Linked DNA regions of Homo sapiens: region 1 is linked to region 2. The links are contacts of gene promoters, found by promoter capture Hi-C in human tissues and cell types (Jung and others, 2019). All regions are on one chromosome and are shown on one strand. Each heading gives the region's core, a stretch centred on a gene start or on the middle of the fragment in contact. The rest is flanking DNA. Distances are from core to core; before and after follow the strand shown.

Region 1 (2,700 bases), core at 68-2,567, 340 kb after region 2:
ATCACAGTAAATCTTGCAACGTTCCCAGGAGAACTGCAATGAGTTAGATCTCAGCTGTCCAACACTGGGCTGTACGCCTCATGAGTCTCACATGCACCATTCATATGTAAAATTGCGAAAACTCTAAATTCAGCCAAATTCTTCTACTCTCCAAAAGGACTTGGGTGCAGTTCAGTCCATATTTTCAGTGACTTTTCATTTATCTTAACAGCTTCTCTCAGTTCTGGTTAATTCCTTCCTCAGGCTTGCCAGAGTCAAGTACTTCCGAGAGTCTGGCAAGTCCCATCTGTGATGAGTCACCTGCAGCGGAGAGTCTGCAGGAAGATCAGACGGGGCTGCTCACAGGCGAGAAGACTCAGTACCCAGAAAAAGTGTCTGAATGCCTCTCTGATTCTCTCCCACACTGTGTTACTTTTCCCATTTTCTTCCACCTTACTGACTTTCAGACAATAGAGTGTTTGCGTATTTTTCTTTTTTACAGTGCTTAAAACTTAAACGAGAACCATCCTGGAATGGCTATTTAAATAAGCAGGCAAACTGACCTGTGTTATCACAACCAAAGAGCCCTCTGAACATCTTCATTTTCTTTTGGATCCCCCATGTACCTCTACCATAAAGTTTGTCCCACCTTAGATATGAGAAAAACAATAATATAATTAAAATGTTTAAGAGAACCTAGCTGAAAGTGGTCGATTTTCATGGTGCTGTTGTTGACAGGGCCGAAGATGGTGATCACAGAGATTTTCCTGGTAGCCATCTTGCAGAAACTTTCCAGATATTCATCACGTTGTTGCACATACATATTGTTCTCAGCCTTGGGAGCAGTGATCAGCTGGAGGTGGGTGAAGACAAACAAATACTCATTTATAGTGATAGTTTCACACTGAAGCAAAACCCAAAGAGATGATTTGGAAGAGAGGGCTGGTAGTGACTGCATCTAAGCTACAAATGTTCTGCTGAACAGTTAGCATAATTAGGACCAAAAAGGGCCATTTGAAAAGGCCTCTTTTTGTCTCCAAGACAGCTTGGAGTTTTCTACTCACTTCCATTATTTACCTCCATTACTAGCCTCCACATGTCTCACTTTTCTTATTTGTGAACTCTGCAAAGGAATATTTATTTTGCAAGGCTGCTGTGAACATTACATGAATACTTGGCATGCAATAATTGTTCAATAAATGTTATTTTCCTTCCCTAATTTTGATCTTCATTATTCTCACTGGCTGATTAGATATTGGTTAATACAGTGGTTACTACTATTATTCACATTTCACAGGGTTAAGAGAGTTTCATAGCCAGGCCCTGGGCACTACGAAACATTCTGTGATTTAGAACTCTTATTAGAAAACCTTGCAGAAAGGTTTTATGATGACTTTTAGGCCTACGTTTTGTCACATAGAATATATTCACTGTCACATTCAGCCTGCACAGAGTTGGTGGTGTTTGTCTTTTGATATTGCAGTTTTCCAACAGGATGTTTTTTACTCTAAGTTTAGCCCTCTCTTTGGTTCAGACCTGGTATTTTTCACCTAGCCCTCTGTCTTTCATCCTCATCCTATGACCCCTGTCTTCTGGGGGAAAAAAAAAAGAGGAAAGACAAAGCAATCAAAAGAAATACTTTAGTCACCAGAAATCTGAGAAAATGTAATTTATTTTGGATACAGTAAGGATAACCCTACTTTTAAGAGGTCCTCTTGAATCTTTTCTCTGAGAACGTCTCACTATTTTTATCTAACCTAATACAAAAGCTTCTCTACTCTCTTGATTAATTTAGCTGCCCTTCCCTGAGCCTTCTCCAATTTTACCAATTTTACTCAATCCTTGAGCTGAAGCTAGAACTCTGTTCCACATCCCACAAGCTAGTGGGCATAATGCTGCTTACCTTGGAGGTGGGAGGATGTGAAATTTTATTGTGATGATGACCAGGTCTTTGTTGAGATCCTTGATCCCAAATAGATCACCAGGCTGATGTCTGCAATGAACGCTGTCTATTTGCCCTTTGTTGCATCATCACTAAGCTCAGAAGCAAACCTCTATAAATCATTTTTCTGTAAACAACTTTTTGCATTTGACTAAATACAAATTTATCAGCCAATTTTCTTGCATTTGACTACATTCAAATGTATCAACCAACTTTCTATTTATCCGCCTAAACTTATAAACTATTTCCGATATTTATGACTATTACCTTGGCATTTTTCAGAGGGCAAATCACCAGGCTGTGTACCTCTTCCAAATATTTTATCAAAAATGGTTAATAAATCTGGTCTCAGCTTGATCCTGCTGTTTATTTTTCTCTGTCAGAGATGTCTGTATTGCTACCTGCAGGCTTTCCCTTCTAAGAATTCTCCCCGCATGACAAAATACTCTCCCTCAAGGAAATTAAACGTGTTCAATAGCCTTTGAATGGAACGTTAACAAAGGTTTTCTGGGATGAAGTTTTTGTTTTGTTTTGTTTTGTTTTTCAGATCATAATTAATTTTAAATAGACATGCTTTAGTTTATTTTTCATGTGTTTCTATGCCTGCTCATACGGACATTCTGGGTAGGAAATGCTTGTTTTAGGAACATAATTTTTTAAGGGGAAAAACAAAATTTCTCCAAATTTATTCATTGATTCACATTAGCCTTAAAACAAGATTAAAGGCAGCTATAAAAAGATGTGGTGATGGTATTTTTAGTTGCTTGGTTTGTTTTTAA
Region 2 (2,904 bases), core at 142-2,641:
GAGCCACCACGCCCGGCCACAGGTTTTCAATATAATTAGAACTCTTCATCTTAAGCTGACTTTTGACAGCTTTGTAAAAGTCTGTGAGTCCAAATCCCATTAAAGAAAAAAATATTGGTTTATCACATAGGTCCTCTGCATTAATTTAACAATAAGTTAGTTGACTGAGCACAGTGGCTCACGCCTGTAATCCCAGCACTTTGGGAGGCCTAGGCGGGTGGATCACTTGAGATCAGGAGTTCGAGACTAGCCTGGCCAAAATAGTGAAACTGTCTCTACTAAAAATACAAAAAAAAAAAAAAAAAAATTAGCCAGGTGTGGTGGCACATGCCTGTAATCCCAACTACTTGGGAGGCTGAGACAGGAGAATCAATTGAAGAGGCAGAGATTGCAGTGAGCCTAGATTGTGCCACTGCACTCCAGCTTGGGTGACAGAGTGAGACTCTATTTCAAATATATATATATATATATATCTCTCATGTTAGCTAATATCTCAATTCTCTTTGTGTGTGGAGGAAATTAATGACTGCCCTCTCAAAAATGACATGAATTTGTCCTTGTCAGTCAGCCAGCATTGAGAAATTTTGTCTCATGAACCGTAAGTCACACTAATTTACCATGTTACTGAACATGGAAACAGTCTTCTTCCTTCAGATTGGAACGTTTTGCAAGAATTAGGTGAAGAAAGCATCCTGAAGAGGGCACTGTGGGATCTCAGTAATCTTCACAGCTACAAAGCTCATGCTTAATGGTTTATTTTATATTGATACCAGAGGCTGGATTGTCTCCTTAGTAAACTCTCCTACCACACAACGCAGACATCTTACTGACTCTGAAGGTGGGTGGGCTATTGCCCTCCTAATGCCCCTCCACTCAGAATGAGCCCTTCCTCCAGCTCAAGATCAGCTCCACACACCTGAGGCGATTCCCTGAACCAGTGAGCTTTCCCCTAGGGCTGGACTTTTCAGTTTCAGTAACGCAAAGGGAACACATGCCACTGGATAGTTCACAAAGAGTTGATGTAAAAAGCATAATGGAGGAGGGGAAGCAGCTAAGGGGTAGAAGTTCAAACCGAGAAGCTAGCTGATCTTTGGGAAAGTGTTCCATGGTCTGCCACAAGAAAGGCAGAAGCGCCAAGAGGGAGTGGCTGAATCTCTAGCAGGAAAACAGTGGGAGCCTTTGTTCATCTAGGAGGCGAGACTGAGAGAGAAAGTACCAGTAGGAAAGGTCAACTTCCAGAAAAGGAAACTAGAGACTGGAGAGCTCACCATCCGGAGCCTCAGGAGGAGTATCCCGTGGTGTGCAAGTGAGAAGTGGGGGGCAGCTATTTCGCTCACAGCCAAACAGCCCAGACCAACTGCAACCTCACTGACAGTTACTTGCTCCAAACTCGCCCCTAGTCTGCACCGGTTAGCTTCAGGCCCATCATCTCTTACTTGATTGGCTGATGAAATGCAACGTCATTGCTCCTGTATATCTCAGGCATTTGACGGCTTAAGGCTTTGTTTTATTTTTTAAAAATAAACAAATAAGGGGTGAAAATGAACCTACAGAAATTGCGCCATTGTGTTAATTTAAGACTTTGGGACAGTGGATTTCTGACAAAGAGCTGTTGGACACTGCTTTCCCAGAATTCTAGTAAAAGGAAGTTTCCTGGATAAGATAGTGTGGTAGAGATATGAGGACGCAGGTTGCTGGGTTAGGGAAAAAGTGAATGGATATTGTGGGCATGTAAGAGAATGAAATCAAGATGACAAGGTGAACTTTCACTCTGGGTTATATGTGAGGAAATTTTCAGGAATAATGATATACTCATTTGTTTTTTCTAAACATAATATGTAAAAAATATTTTAATTGAAATTACTTAGTTATTACTATAGAGCCAACTTTTCACATTCCTACTCTCATAAAATATCTTAAAGTTATTTAAAATTGTATTTAATGTTTTGTTCTCTGTGTTTCATCTCTTTCTCCCGACCCACACGTTTATAAGTGAATGGTGGTAAAATTCCCAACTCTTCATTTGGCCTCCTCTGATACTACCCTGATGAAGAAGGCAGGAGGCAACTTGTTTGGCTGGGTTGGAGCAGAAGTCCAGGCTCCCTACATGGTCTCCAACTGAGGCATGGGGTGCATCTTTATGGCCTGGTTGTTATGGAAGTTCCAGCTCCCACAAGGCCTTTTCTGATACTGCTCTGGTTGGGGTGGGGAAACAGGCAGGGTTCTGGCATCTTGTATGGTATGGGTGAAGTTTAAGCTTCCTACTCAGTCTTTGCTGGTATGTGGGTACAGGGAGTGGGTGAACACTTTTCTGTGGTGTTTGGTTAAAGTAGAGCAGTTACTGGTGAAATTTTCTGTCTTGCTGGGCTGCCCCTTTTCTTGGGTCTTTAAAAAATCTATTCTCGGCCAGGTGCAGTGGCTCATGCCTGTAATCCCAGCACTTTGGGAGGCCGAGGCAGGTGGATCACCTGAGGTCAGGAGTTCGAGACCAGCCTGACCAACAAGGTGAAACCCCGTCTCTACTAAAAATACAAAAATTAGCCGGGCATGGTGGCAGGCGCCTATAGTCCTAGCTCCGGGAGGCTAAGAAAGGAGAATCACTTGAACCCGGGAGATGGAGGTTGCAGTGAGCCGAGATTGCGCCACTGCACTCCAGCCTGGGAGACAGGGTGAGACACCGTTTCAAAAAAAAAAAAAAAGGATTCTCATTGTTGGAAATACATGCCACATATCTGTGTGTGGGTTGTGGTTCATGTGTGGATATATATTTAAAAATTAATTAAGTTGCAAAGCTAATATTTGCCACATTATGTATTTGTTTATATACATATGTCTTGCTAAGTTTATATATATATATATATATATATATATATAAATAAAACAGGAAATGTAAATGTTGTCTAA

What was found. The method cuts DNA at HindIII sites, captures the fragments that hold promoters and counts their contacts. A contact is called where the count stands out against the background at its distance.
Region 1: a fragment that was not itself captured here is called in contact with the fragment with the promoter of SLC9C1 in region 2 in 2 of the 25 tissues and cell types used here (H1 embryonic stem cells and thymus).

The regions. Positions count from the first base shown.
Region 1 is chr3:112,629,438-112,632,137 of GRCh38, forward strand. CCDC80 (coiled-coil domain containing 80) reads right to left here. Exons shown (of 8, transcript NM_199511.3): 3 at 676-832. Among named protein-coding and RNA genes, the nearest start is that of CCDC80, 10 kb to the right of the region's middle. The HindIII fragment of the contact is 4,136 bases long and covers 1-2,700 here.
Region 2 is chr3:112,292,825-112,295,728 of GRCh38, forward strand. SLC9C1 (solute carrier family 9 member C1) reads right to left here and starts at 1,392. Exons shown (of 29, transcript NM_183061.3): 1 at 1,269-1,392. The HindIII fragment of the contact is 5,534 bases long and covers 1-2,904 here.